Regions from separate parts of the Homo sapiens genome. Here all the other regions are linked to region 1. Evidence: promoter capture Hi-C in 16 types of primary human blood cells and fetal thymus (Javierre and others, 2016). All regions are on one chromosome and are shown on one strand. Each heading gives the region's core, a stretch centred on a gene start or on the middle of the fragment in contact. The rest is flanking DNA. Distances are from core to core; before and after follow the strand shown. Region 1 holds the start of CUL2 (cullin 2). Region 2 overlaps CCNY (cyclin Y). Region 3 overlaps CCNY (cyclin Y). Region 4 has its middle 5.6 kb from the start of PARD3-DT.

Region 1 (3,324 bases), core at 470-2,969:
ACGCAAAAATGACTTTAAAGAAGGTCCATAACGTTTAATCTAGTGACAAACTGGTGAGGGTAAAAGACATGGATAATCTTCACATTTATAGAACACTGAAAGCCACCAGCAAGGATGGAGAATGAAGAGTATTTCAGATGCAGGAGAACATCCAAATACTCAAAAAGCAATTGAAAAGGAATTTTTCCCACGCTATGTGCATGCACATTGTAGAAATGTTCCCCCAACTCATAAACAGCAATTGAAAAAAACAAGTAATTCAAAACACTGTGGGCTGGGCGCAGTAGCTCAGGCCTGTAATCCCAGCACTTTGGGAGGCCTAAGCAGGCGAATCACCTGAGGTCAGGAGTTCAAGACCAGCCTGGCCAACATGGTGAAACCCCATCTCCACTAAAAATACAAAATTAGCCGGGCATGGTGGCGCATGCCAGTAATCCCAGCTACATGGAAGGCTAAGGCAGAAGAATTGCTTGAACCCGGGAGGCGGAGGTTGCAGTGAGCCGAGATCGCACCACTGCACTCCAGCCTGGGTGACAAGAGCAAAACTCCATCTCAAAACAAAAAAACTGTGTACTTCTCTTATCTCACGCGACTCTTTTGGAAGGATCTTCCAGATACTGTATAAGGGCAAAAGAAGCAAAGTATAGCTCATTTGTTCATGTGTCTGTCTTGAAAAGGAATGTAAGATTCTAAAGGGTAGGCAACAGTGTTTTGAATGTTTTTAAGCGATTATTATGTAGTCAGTTGTCAATCAGATCAAAGTGATTATTTCCGATACTTTACTACGAAGGTAGGCTTGGCCAGGTCTAGTTCAAAGACGTTTATGTTGAACAGTCACAATCTATAGCGAACGTTAATATTTTGCATCTTATCTTCAAAATTTAAACGCCCAGGGTACTGGCCTTCAACTGTTAATATTAATCCATGGGGCAAAGATGTGGACTTAACATTAATAACAGTCTGCAATTCACAGATGTTTTATTTGCATGCACGTAATGGTAGGGAATGGTCCAGACTCTCTAGAGGGTAAGCAAGTGCTAGAAAGCGTGTGAGGATCTTATTTCACCAGACCCTAAGGGTTGAGACAAGAAGTCTAGCATGCACGTAGGATACTCCTCCCCAAAGCTATCAATCTTTGCAGTCTGCGGAAACAAAAGTGAAAACACTCGGGGTAAGGATGCATGAGATGCCCCCCCCCACACACACACACAAACACACAGAGTTGTGTATTCGTGTGAGCACGTAAATATGTAGAAGAATACACGCACTCTCACCTTCCCTCCTTCGAAGGAAAATGGGGCCGCGGGAGAGGCGGCCAAGATCGGGTTGGGGAGGCCCGGGATCCAGTCCAGGGGGTGGCAGGGCTTACGGGTCAGCGCTCTGGGGAGCCGAGGTCACTTACAGGATACCATCTTCCCGGGCCTCCCCCTTTCATCCCTCTCCCCACACCTCGTCGCCCCCAACTCCTCTCCTCCGCCCCAGCCCCGCCACCCATTAACCGGGAAGGGAAGTTTCCCGGCGCCTGCAGCCCGGCTCCCCGACCCTCAGCGGGGTTACCTTCTGCAGAAGCAGGGCAAGGGGCAGGGGACAAGGGGAGGGGGAGGCAGCCCGAAGGAGTGAAAGACGAAGCCCCGGCGAGGAAGGTGGGCGGAGGCGGCGGCGGCGGCGGCTGTCAGCTCGCGTTCCCCTGCTCACAGCGCTGCCATTACTGTGCGCCGAGGCCGCCTCCCCGGCCGGCCGCCGCCACCGGCCCCGGAGACGCGGGGGGTGGGGAGCGAAGCCCGGGGAGCCCGCGCGCCGACACTCACCTGTCTCCGCGAGGAAAGACAGCAAAGTCCAAGGCCGCCGCCGCTCCCCGGCGGGACAGGGGCGGTAGGGAGGGGGGGAAAGGGGAGAAGGACGGGCCGATCACGGGATCCGTAAAACAATCGTCCTCCTCTGCCTCCGGCTTTGCCCAACACACACCCTCCGGTCTCCTTCTTCCGCTGCTGCCAAATCCCCCCCGCCACCCGGAAAGCAATGGTACAGGCCGCGTTACGGCAAGCGCAGGGAGCCAAGCTTCGTGTGATTGCGAAAGGCCACGGAAATTAATATTCCAAGTGATTCCTTGCTGGGCTTGCTGTCAATGAGGCAATTGCGGTTCGCTGAGCTGATGGACACAGTACCCACCCACTACCCGTTAGTTCAGGGACTGCTAATAACAATATGTTGGAATGGTGCTTTCAACAGAAGTATGTTTTCCTTGTTTCAGACCTATGTGAATATCCTAAGACACCACAATCCTCTTGCCACACACTTCCATGGGCTTTGCAAATGATCAAAAATAAATTAGCAAAACTACTTTTCCTCTCTGACAAACTCTTTTTCTTGTTAGTTTTTATCTACAGAGAATTTCTTGGACATACATGTATTTTCGATAAAGAAACTTCACATCTTTTTCACTAATACCCCACCTTCACCAAGCCCCAAGCCTATCAGTTTGAAGGGTTTTCCTCCCTTGGAGTTTTAAACGGTAAAGCTGATAAAAATATAGAATTACTCATCACCTCCTCATATATGCAGGGCCACAGAGGAACAAAAGCCCGGCCTTAGTGCTTTTTGCCTTTCATATCCTCAAGAGCTCACCATCAGGGTCTTGTTCATTTATACGATTCAGCAAGCTTTTCCCTCCCATCCCTTCCTTCCAAACTGCACGAACCCTTCAAGGCCCATTTAAAACCCTGCCTCCAGACCTGATCAGTCCCTAGAGCCTTCCTCCTCTTCTAATCTGCTTCTCTTGGTACTTGAAGTCTCTACTCTTTATTTCAGTAAAGGGTTTTTATATACGAAATTCAATCCAACAGTATGTTTCCATTATGTGACCTTTTTTTCCTCCCATGTTTTCCCCCTTTTAATCTAGTGATTCTCAAAGTGTGGTCCCCAGACCTCTGGAAATCCCTGAGACCTTTACAGAGGTCATAAGGTTAACAACTAGTTTGTTAACAATGCAATATGTCTGGTCCTTTTTTTTTTTGGATACAGAGTCTTGCTCTGTCACCCAGGCTGGAATGCAGTGGCGGCACAATCTCAGCTCACTGCAACCTGCACCTCCCGGGTTCAAGTGATTCTCCTGTCTCAGCTTCCCGAGTAGCTGGTATTACAGAAGCCCGCCACCACACCCGGCTAATTTTTTGTATTTTGTAGAGACAGGGTTTCACCATGTCACCACATTGCCCAGGCTGGTCTTGAACTCCTGAGCTCAGGCAATCCACCCACCTCAGCCTCCCAAAGTGCTAGGATTACAGGCCTGAGCCACCGTGTCAGGCCCCCCCTGCTTTTTGTTTT
Region 2 (3,324 bases), core at 596-3,095, 290 kb after region 1:
ACCAGTCTTAGATCCTCGAGGGCTTGGATCTGGAAGTGCTGCTCCCATTTTGGTTTGTATTTTGTAATGAATGCTTGGAGTCAGCTCAGGGTCCAATCATTGAAGCATTTATGTGTGAAACATTGATTATGCAGTGATTACTTGAGGAGGTGACTGGTGGTCACAGCTTATTTCTCTAATGTCTTTCCCTTTCTCTCCCACTCCTGATTTCCACCTGGGAATCCTATCCTTCCAGTGTGGAATGTATCAGAGAGTTTTAAAGCCCAAAGAGACCTTGGAGGTGATTATTTCTCTTACGTGTTGTATTTAAGGAACCTGATAATAACTAACTTCAAACATTTATTTCAGAAAGTTTCAAAACTATACAGAATTAAAGATAATAGTACGATGAGTCTCTATATTTCACCCAGATTTAGTAATTTTAAGATATTGCCCAGGTACAACTATCACATATAGAGCACTTCACATGCTTTACTTTTATCACCTCCCAATAGCCTTTTGGGGTTAGATACAAATATATTTCCTCTCTTGAAGATGAGAAAACTGACAGGCCCAGAGAGATTAAGAACCTTGCCTGGGGTCTCCCAGTCCGCAGCCAGCCGCCTGTGACTTCACCCTCTCTGCTGCACTGCCTGGAGAAGTTTTAAAGTTTGCCTGACATACACGGTCAGCTGAGGTCAGGCTAGAAGTGGAACCAAGAGATCTCACTCCTTCGTTGTTTCTTTTATTGTGATTTTCTGTGGCTTTTCTCTTTCCTTTATTCTTTTGATTCTTTTGCAACTGACTTTCTGGGCTTGAAGCGTCCGAGTACCATTTTAACTCTGATAGGCAGACAGCGGCATCCCAAGGCTGGGGTGGTGGGAGTGGTCTGCTCCAGTGCTGGTGATGAGGGGTGCATTGTCTGTGGAGGATTTAATAACAGTAATAAAAGCATCCAGAAGTCTGCCTGTAAAGTCTAAATGTCTAGAATTTTGCCTGCAGTTCTAAACAATGTCGGTGATATTCTTTCCCCCAAAATCTTTTGTTGGTGTTCTAAATAATTGCTTTATTGAGTTTTAATAATAGATACGTAAGCTTCAAGTGAGTACTTCTTGAGTACTTAGCCTTTAATAGATACTGTAGGCCGAGCGCCATGGCTCATGCCTGTAATCCCAGCACTTTGGGAGGCCGAGGCGGGTGGATCACCTGAGGTCAGGAATTTGAGACCAGCCGGGCCAACATGGTGAAACCCCGTCTCTACTAAAAATACAAAAAATTATCTGGATGTGGTGGCACGTGCCTGTAATCCCAGCTACTGGAGGGGGTGGGCTGGGACAGGAGAATTGCTTGAACCCGGGAGGTGGAGGTTGCGGTGAGCTGAGATTGTGCCATTGCACTCCAGCCTGGGTGACAGAGTGAGACTCCGTCTCAAAAAAAAAAAAAAAAAGAAATACTGTATGCAACATGGAGGTTAAATCTGACACTCCTGGTGTCAGATTAGCCCTAAACACATGGGGATTCAGCTGCTTGCATTCATTTCCAGAGTAACTTCTTAAGACTTTAGAATTGTTCAGAAAGCTTGCTTAGGACAGTCTTGTGTATTTAACTCTGTAGTATTACGTATATCTGTTTTTAAACAGTAGATTTGAAATAAATGATAGTGTTACTGATGACTATAATTGTCACTCTGTTTGATCACTTGGAGTTTTTGTCCAAGAGTCCTTAAAAATTACAACAGTGAAACAGAATGCAAACCATGAGGTGTAATATTTTTGCTTGGTAAGTGCAAAAATAATATCTGTAAAATTAAAACTTATCACATTTAAGACAGTTGTTTTAAAACTAAAGAACAAATCAAGAAAATAATAGTTACTGATTTTTACATAACTATTACTGAAAATAATTTTTTTCATACATGGAGGGTGTGTTAAAAAATATTCCTTCCTGGGTGTCTAATGTGTTAGATATGCCGTTGTAGGCGAAGGCTTTTTCTGTGATTCGTTTTTAAGTGAGGAGATTGAGAATCTTTCATATGTGCAACTGGAACCGTTAGGATAGGAAGAAAGTTACACAGGGCATTACTTGTACTGAAGGATTACTCTGTGTCTGAAATTGCTGGCACTTGGTACAGCTTTGTCTCACTTTGATATTTGTCAAGCTTCAGGCCTGTCTGCAGTGCTGACAGACTGTGTGTGCGACAGAGGCAAGAGCTCCTGCCGGCTCCTTTGCTTGGAGCATGCAAAGGGGGCTTGATGCCTTCTCTTGGGAGGGGGCCGTGGCGCCTTTGCAGTGGTAAGACCTCAGCCAGAACCCTGGCTTCTTGACTCTCATCTCCAGCATCACTTAGAACAGTGCTTCTCCATTGATTTTGCCCCCAGGGCACATTTGGCAAGGTCTGGAGACATTTTAGTTATCACCACTGGATGGGGGCTGCTATTGGCATCTTGTGGGTAAAGACATGACTCCTGCTAACTGTCCTGTGGTACACAGGACAGCCCCTCTACCCCTCCAGTAAAGAATTACCGGGCCCAGTTGTCCAGTAGTGCTGAGCTTGAGACACTGACTTAGGGCAAGTTACTTAAACTTGCATGGCCGGCTTCTTCATTTCCTCAAAATGGGAAAAATAACAGCAGTACTTTTCTCATAAGGTTGTTGTGAAAACTATGGGAGACAGTACATTTAAGAGCTCAGTAATTATAATTGTTGTTATTATTATGATTAACTTAGTGAAAATAAAATCCAAAAGGTAAAAAACAAACAAACAAACTGCTGCTGTGATATACTCATGACCAGTAGAGAGTCAACCATACTACACTCTGTGTACCCTTAGTACTACACAGCTGACCCTGAACACCTTGGGTCTGAGCCACATTAGTCCACTTATATGTGGATTGTTTTCAATTGAACATGGATCGAAAACGCAATATTTCGGGATGCAAAACCTGCGTGACCAAGAACTGCCTTTTTCTGTATCTGTGGGTTCTACAGCTCCGATGGGGAGACTTGAGCATGCACAGATTTTGGTGTTTGTCCAAATACCAGTCACCTGCAGATGACCTAGGGGTGACTGTAAATGGATAACAGTGCTTAGAATAATGACGTTGAATCAATATTCAGCGTATGAAACTTAGTAAAGTAGGAAATTGAACTAGAAACTTTTAGAAACATTTTCTTTTCTTTTTTTTTTTTTAAGATGGTGTTTTGCTCTGTTGCCCAGGCTGGAGTGCAGTGGCACAATCTCGGCTCACTGCAACCTTTGCCTCCCAGGTTCAAGCAGTTCTCCTGCCCCAGCCTCCCGAGTAGCTGGGATTACAGGCATCCGCCACCACGCTCAGCTAATTTTTG
Region 3 (3,324 bases), core at 449-2,948, 270 kb after region 1:
CTCTGCCTAAATTTTATCTTTTAAAAGTAGTATTTATTATTTCCCTCCTTGATTTTAGAAAATTTAAAAAAGTATATAGAAAAAATTACCTGTAATCCTACCACACAGAGCAATGCTTGTTTTTAAAATTTTACATTAGTATTTTAATATTAATATGAACATTAATACTCATCTGTATATGATTATATACAATGTATAACTTAAAGAAAATTTGATAATATATTAATATGTCTCTGAGTCAGACACATTAATCAAGCTTCTATGGTGGGGATTTACCAAAATGCAGATTGTTTTGTTTTGTTTTGAGATGGAGTCTCACCCTGTCGCCCAGGCTGGAGTGCAACGGCACGATCTCAGCTCACTGCAGCCTCTGCCTCCCGGGTTTAAATGATTCTCCTGCCTCAGCCTCATGAGTAGCTGAGATTACAGACGCCCACCACCATGCCCAGCTAATTTTTGTATTTTTAGTAGACGGGGTTTCGTCATGTTGGTCAGGCTGGTCTCGAACTCCTGGCCTTGTGATCCCCCCGCCTCGGCCTCCCAAAGTGCTGGGATTACAGGCATGAGCCACTGCACCTGGCCCATAATGCAGGTATTTATTCATCCACTTATTTATTGTTTCATTTTCTCTCAGATATGTTATCTGTGTTTACATATATACCTGTGGATGTATATTTCTTTCATAATTGGGACCATGCTTTAAATATGACTTTATAATTTTTTTGTCTTATTATAAAAGTGTTGCCTCTAAACAATCTTCTAAAACATGATTATTAATTACCACAGGTAATACAAGGTACATCAATTCCACAATTTATTTAATCATGACAGTACTAATTATACTAGCATTAATTGAGTGCTTAGATTTAGATTTTGGTTCTTTAGGTTTTTTCTTTTAATTTTTTAAAAAACTCATACATAATATTTTGTTTGCCTGTGGGGGGCATTTCCTTATTTCTAAAAGTCAACTTTATGAGACAAAGGAATGAAACTTTTGATACTTACTGAGTAGGCAGGAACTGAATGTTATTTTTCAGGTGCATGTGATTAACTTTTAATATGGGTCTGAGAATCGGCATTCTGCTCACTGTCTTCACTAATTCTCTAAGAAAATATTAAGCATCTACTGAGAACCATATTACATTATGTAGATATTACAAAGATATATAAGACATGGCCTCTGATTTGTGGAGCACTAAATTGTAATTGTGAAAATGAGAAGTATGGGGCTGAGCATCCCTGATCTGAAAATCTGAAATCAGAAATGCTCCAAAATCTGAAACCTTTTAAAAATGTTTGCCCCCTCAACACACACACTTCAGCACCCAAAATCTGAAACCTTTTGAATGCCAACATGATGCCACAAGTGGAAAATTGCACACCTGACACTTTTGCTTTCTGATGGTTCACTGTACACACATTTGTTTCATGCACAAAATAAAACTAATGTATAAAATTACTTTCAGGTTATGTGTATAAGGTGAATGTGAAACAGAAATGAATTTTATGTTTAAACTGGAGCCCCATCCCCAAGTTTAAACAAATCTTCCAAAATCCAAAAAAAATTGAAATCCAAAACACTTCTGGTACCAAGCATTTTGGATAAGGGAGACTCAGCCTATATATACATTATCATTTAAGGCAGCATGTGATACATACTATGTTGTACAGAAGTAGGTGCTAAAATCAAATAAAAAAGAGTGTGCAATAAGATGTGCAAGGTGGAACAGGTGACTTTTGGCCTGGGTGATCTGGGACAGTTTCATGGAGAGAGAGATTGAGTACTGGGTCTTTTGGTTGGGTGGTTCTTGCAAATAGAACATTTCTGGCAGTAGGGAAGGCAGTAGGAAAGTCCTCCAGGTGACAAAGTACAGGATGTATTTGGGTCTTGGCAACTGAATTTACTTAAAGACAGGGAGGATAGTCCAGACGAGGCTTGGGCCACTTGCAGCCTAAGAGGTCCATGTCGTGTAGGGACCTGAATGCCAAGCTAGAGGGTACCAGTTTTTTTTTTTAATTCTCCAATTTAAAACTTTTAATTAAAAAGTAAACTTTAATGTCAAAAATGCAAACTTTGGAGAGGGCAGAAAGATCACACACAAGGCTGTCACTTCACACTTGGAGGGTTGCACAGCAGCCAGAGGCGCTCCTCACTTCCCAGACGGGGCTGCGGCCAGGCAGAGGCGCTCATCACATCCCAGAGGGTGTGGGGGCCGGCCAGAGGCGCTCCTCACTCCCCAGATAGTTGGCGGGGGGGCCAGGCAGAAGCACTCCTCACTTCCCAGACAGTGGGGCAGCCAGGCAGAGGTACTCCTTGCTTCCCAGATAGGGCGGCAGCCGGACAGAGGCGATCCTCACTTCCCAGATGGTCGGTGGCCGTACAGAGGCGCTCCTCACTTCCCAGACAGGGCGGCGGCCGGGCGGAGACGCTCCTCACTTCCCAGGTGGTGGGCCGCCGGCGGCCGGGCGGAGACGCTCCTCACTTCCCAGATGGTGGGCCGCCGGGCAGAGGCGCTCCTCACTTCCCAGCTTGTGAGGTGGCCGGCAGAGGCACTCCTCACTTCCCAGACGGTAGGGTGACCAACAGAGGTGGTCCTCACTTCCCCGACGGGGCGGCAGCTGGGCAGAGGCGCTCCTCACTTCCCAGACGGTGGAGTGGCCGGCAGAGGCGCTCCTCACTTCCCCGACAGGGCGGTAGCTGGGTAGAGGCACTCCTCACTTCCCAGACGGTTGGGGGGCCGGGCAGAGGCGCTCCTCTCTTCCCAGACAGTGGGGCGGCCGGGCAGAGGTGCTTCTCACTTCCCAGGTGGTTGGGGGGCCGGGCAGAGGTGCTCCTCTCTTCCCAGACGGTGGGGCTGCCGGGCAGAGGTGCTCCTCTCTTCCCAGACGGTGGGGCGGCCTGGTAGAGGCGGGGATACCAGATTTTGGGGTAGTAGGCTTACCTGATCAAAGTGACCCTGGAAGATTAATATGCTGGAGATGTGGGAACTAGATGGGAATGGGAAAAGACTGAATCAGTGAGATCAGCTCTGTTGGTTCTGTGTAGTGGGGTTATTGGATTGGAAAGGGAGTTGTAGAAGCAAGTCTGGTGTTGTCACTCCGCCCCACGACCTCCCCGAGACTGACACTGTCAGTCAGAGGAAAGCTTTTAAAAGTTTTCGTATTCCCTGCCTACCTGGCACTGAGTAGGTATGAAATCATTGTTGAAAGAGTGAGTGAACCAGCAATATAATTTTGTGCCTGAAGGTGCAGAGAGAGGGAGGATTCAGAGTTGACCCTGAGTCTTTGGAGGCAGGGTAACTGAATGAACATGCTTTTAGTGTA
Region 4 (3,324 bases), core at 453-2,952, 270 kb before region 1:
CAGTCAAATATCTCCCTCCTTCCCAGGTCCCAGAGCTGAAGAATGAGGTAGCTTGTTGGTGAAGTCCATGAAAGTTGGCAGAACAAGGTGGAGGCTGGCAGAGCAGGTGATATTAACACTCAACTCTGTTAAAGACAAATGTGCAGCAGAGTGGAATAAAGCCACCTCAGCCACTCACTTTCTGGCGGGCCACCTTGACTGGAGGCAGGATTTGGAAAGTCCAGTGATATGAAGAGGTGCTTCGTGGTGATGCTTTATAAATGCCAGTTCTAGCTGAGCATGGTGGCTCATGCCTGTAATTGCAGACTTTGGGAGGCTGAGGTAGGAGGATCACTTGAGCCCAGGAGTTTGAGACCAGCCTGGGTAACATAGTGAGACTCTATCTATACGAAAGTTAAAAATTAGCTGGGTGTAGTGGCAAACACCTGTGGTTCCAGCTATGAGGCTGAAGGATCACTTGAACCCAGGAGTTTGAGGCTGCAGTGAGCCATGATCATGTCCCTTCACTCCAATCTGGACGACAGAGTGACACACTATCTCAAAAAATAAAATAGGGCCGGGCACAGTGGCTCACGCCTATAATCCCAGCACTTTGGGAGGCCAAGGCAGGTGGATCACCTGAGGTCGGGAGTTCAAGACTAGCCTGGCCAACATGGTGAAACCTCGTCTCTACTAAAAATATAAAAAATTAGCTGGGTGTTGTGGCAGACACCTGTAATCCCAGCTACTGGTGAGGCTGAGGCAGGAGAATTAGTTGAACCCAGGAGGCGGAGGTTGCAGTGAGCTGAGATGGCACCATTGCACTCCAGCCTGGGCAATAAGAGTGAAACTCCGTCTCAAGATAAATAAATAAAATAAAATATAAATGCCAGTTATTTCAGCCTAATCTTTGAGAGGGAAGTTCAGAGTCAAGTTCTTCGGTGAGGCTTAGAGTGCTGGCCTTCTAGGTTGCTGGGGGAAGCCAAAGGTGCAGGTAGTAAGATTGCTGCTATTTGGGGGAATTTCAGCATTTGAACCAGGATTCTCTGGTGGGTAAAAGTCCATCCTGCCTTCCCTCTGAGGCAGGCATGGCTTTATCAGGAACATAAGGTACTGAAAGTTAATTGGATGTGGTGGCTTACACCTGTAATTGCAGCTACATGGGAGGCAGAGGTGGGAGGATCACTTGAGCCCAGAAGTTCAAGACCTACAGAAAGTTAAAAATTTGGCCAAGCATGGTGGTGCATGCCTGTAGTACCAGCTACCTGGAAGGCCAAGGTGGGAGAATTGCTTGAGCCCAGGAGTTGGAGGCTGCAGTGAGCTATGATTGCACTGTTGGACTCCAGCCTGGGAGAGAGAGTGAGACCCTATCTCTATAAAAAGACAAAAAAAAAAAAAAAAAGTACCAAAAGTTTTTTTTTTCTCTTTCTCTCTCTCCCTCTCTCTCTCTCTCCTTTAAAAAACTTTGAGAATGCCTGGGCGTGGTGATTCATGCCTATAATCCCAACACTTTGGGAGGCCGAGGCAGGCGGATCACCTGAGGTCAGGAGTTCGAGACCAGCCTGGCCAACATGGCAAAACCCTGTCTCTACTAAAAACACAAAAAGTAGCCAGGCGTGGTGACAGGCGCCTGTAATCCCAGCTACTTGGGAGGCTAAGGCAGGGAGAATCCCTTGAACCCAGGAGGCGGAGGTTGCAGTGAGCCGAGATTGCACCATTGCACTCCAGCCTGGGCGACAGAGCGAGACTCTGTCTCAAAAAAAAAAAAAATTAAATGGCTCAAATTCTCAAATCCTGAAAGAATCTGGATGGGTAGGAGAAACAGCTGGAGCCTATAATCCCAGCTACTGAAGAAGCTGAGGCAGGAGGATCATTTGAGCCCAGGAGTTCAAGGCTGCAGTGAGTTATGATGGCACACTGCAGTGTAGCCTGGGCAACAGAGTGAGACCCATCTGAAAGAAAGGAAGAAAGAGAGAAAAGAAAGAAAGAAAGAGAGGAAAGGAGAGAGAAGGAAAGAAAGAGAAAGAAAGAAAGAAGAGAGAAAGAGGAAGGAAGGAGAGAGAGAGAAAAGGGAAGGAAGGAGAAAGAAAGAAAGAAAAAGAAAGAAAGAAAAAGAGAAAGAAAGAAGAGATAAAGAGGAAGGAAGAAGGAGAGAGAAAAGGAAGGAAGGAAAAAGAAAAGAAAGGAAGGAAGGAGGGAGGGAGGGGAGGGAGGAGAAGAAAGGAAAGGAAAAGAAAGCAAAGGAAAGAAGGGGAGGAAAATAAAGAGAAAGAAAAATAAGGAAAGAAAAGGGGAGGGAGGAAGGGAGGGAGGGAGAGGGAGGGAGGAAGGAAGGAGGGAAAAGGAAGGAAGGAAAGAAAAAGAAGGGAGGGAGGAAGGGAGGGAGGGAGGAAAGAAAAGAAAGAAAAGAAAAAGAAGTGAGGGAGGGAGGAAGGAAGGAAGGCAGGCAGGAAGGATGGCCCTATCTGGGTTTCCAGCCTCAAGCCTCTCCAGCACTGCCTCCAACCTACCTGGAGCAGGAAAGTCCTCTTCCCAATAGGTTCTCCAGAACCAGACCTACGGGTGTCAGAGGAGGCGAGTGGCTTTGAGGCTGCTTCAGATGAGGCCCAGGGCCCCGGGCCCCTGACATTCTGTGTAATAATTCTGGTATGCTGTACCAGTGCACATCCAGCCCCAGTAATCCCCTGTACCTGATTTTAAATGGCTGACTCATCCCTCCCCACTCTGTCAAGTTACCCTATTAAGCCGGGAGTTCAATTTCAAAAACTCTCTATGGTGCTTTGGAATTTCATTCGCTCAGTGTCGTGGCAGAGGCACCATGCTTGTTCCAGCTGGGGAGGTTTACTTGGATGGAACACCAGGCAGTAGATCTGCAGTGGTAGATCCAGAACCCACAGAAATCTTTCGTTGTTGTTGTTGTTATTGTTGTTTTTGGAGGCAGTATCTTGCTCTGTACCCCAAGCTAGAGTGCAGTGTCACAATCATAGCTCACTGCAGCCTCGAACTCCTAGCTTCAAGCAATCCTCCTGCCTCAGCCTCCAAAATAGCTAGGACTTCAGGTGTGTTCCACCATGCATGGATTTTTTTTTTTTTAATTTTTTTGTAGAGATAGGGTCTTCCTATGTTGTCCTGGCTGGTTGTAAAGTGGTCCTCCTGCCTCAGCCTCCCAAAGTGCTGGAATTACAGGTGTGAGCCACTGCGTCCAGCCTTTCTTTCATCTATCTATCTATCTATCTATCTATCTATCTATCTATCTATCTATCTATCTATCAAGATGGGGATCTAGGCCAGGTGAGGTGGCTCACACCTATAATCCCAGCACTTTGGGAGGCTGAGGCAGGCAGA

The links. Contacts are between HindIII fragments. The CHiCAGO score rates a contact against its expected background, and 5 or more counts as called.
Region 2: a fragment that was not itself captured here is called in contact with the fragment with the promoter of CUL2 in region 1 in 8 of 17 cell types (naive CD4 T cells, activated CD4 T cells, total B cells and 5 more); the score reaches 11.3 in naive CD4 T cells.
Region 3: a fragment that was not itself captured here is called in contact with the fragment with the promoter of CUL2 in region 1 in 8 of 17 cell types (activated CD4 T cells, total CD8 T cells, naive CD8 T cells and 5 more); the score reaches 9.4 in activated CD4 T cells.
Region 4: a contact is called between a fragment that was not itself captured here and the fragment with the promoter of CUL2 in region 1, in 1 of 17 cell types (fetal thymus). The highest score is 5.0, in fetal thymus.

What each region holds. Positions count from the first base shown.
Region 1 is chr10:35,088,622-35,091,945 of GRCh38, forward strand. CUL2 (cullin 2) reads right to left here and starts at 1,720. Exons shown (of 21, transcript NM_003591.4): 1 at 1,558-1,720. RefSeq lists silencers at 1,491-1,620, 1,641-1,840, 1,894-2,082 and an enhancer at 2,001-2,140. The HindIII fragment of the contact is 6,346 bases long and covers 1-2,056 here.
Region 2 is chr10:35,380,157-35,383,480 of GRCh38, forward strand. All of the region lies in intron 1 of CCNY (cyclin Y), which reads left to right. Among named protein-coding and RNA genes, the nearest start is that of CCNY, 45 kb to the left of the region's middle. The HindIII fragment of the contact is 580 bases long and covers 1,556-2,135 here.
Region 3 is chr10:35,360,575-35,363,898 of GRCh38, forward strand. All of the region lies in intron 1 of CCNY (cyclin Y), which reads left to right. Among named protein-coding and RNA genes, the nearest start is that of CCNY, 26 kb to the left of the region's middle. The HindIII fragment of the contact is 2,889 bases long and covers 255-3,143 here.
Region 4 is chr10:34,819,730-34,823,053 of GRCh38, forward strand. No RefSeq gene overlaps it. Among named protein-coding and RNA genes, the nearest start is that of PARD3-DT, 5.6 kb to the left of the region's middle. The HindIII fragment of the contact is 5,325 bases long and covers 1-3,324 here.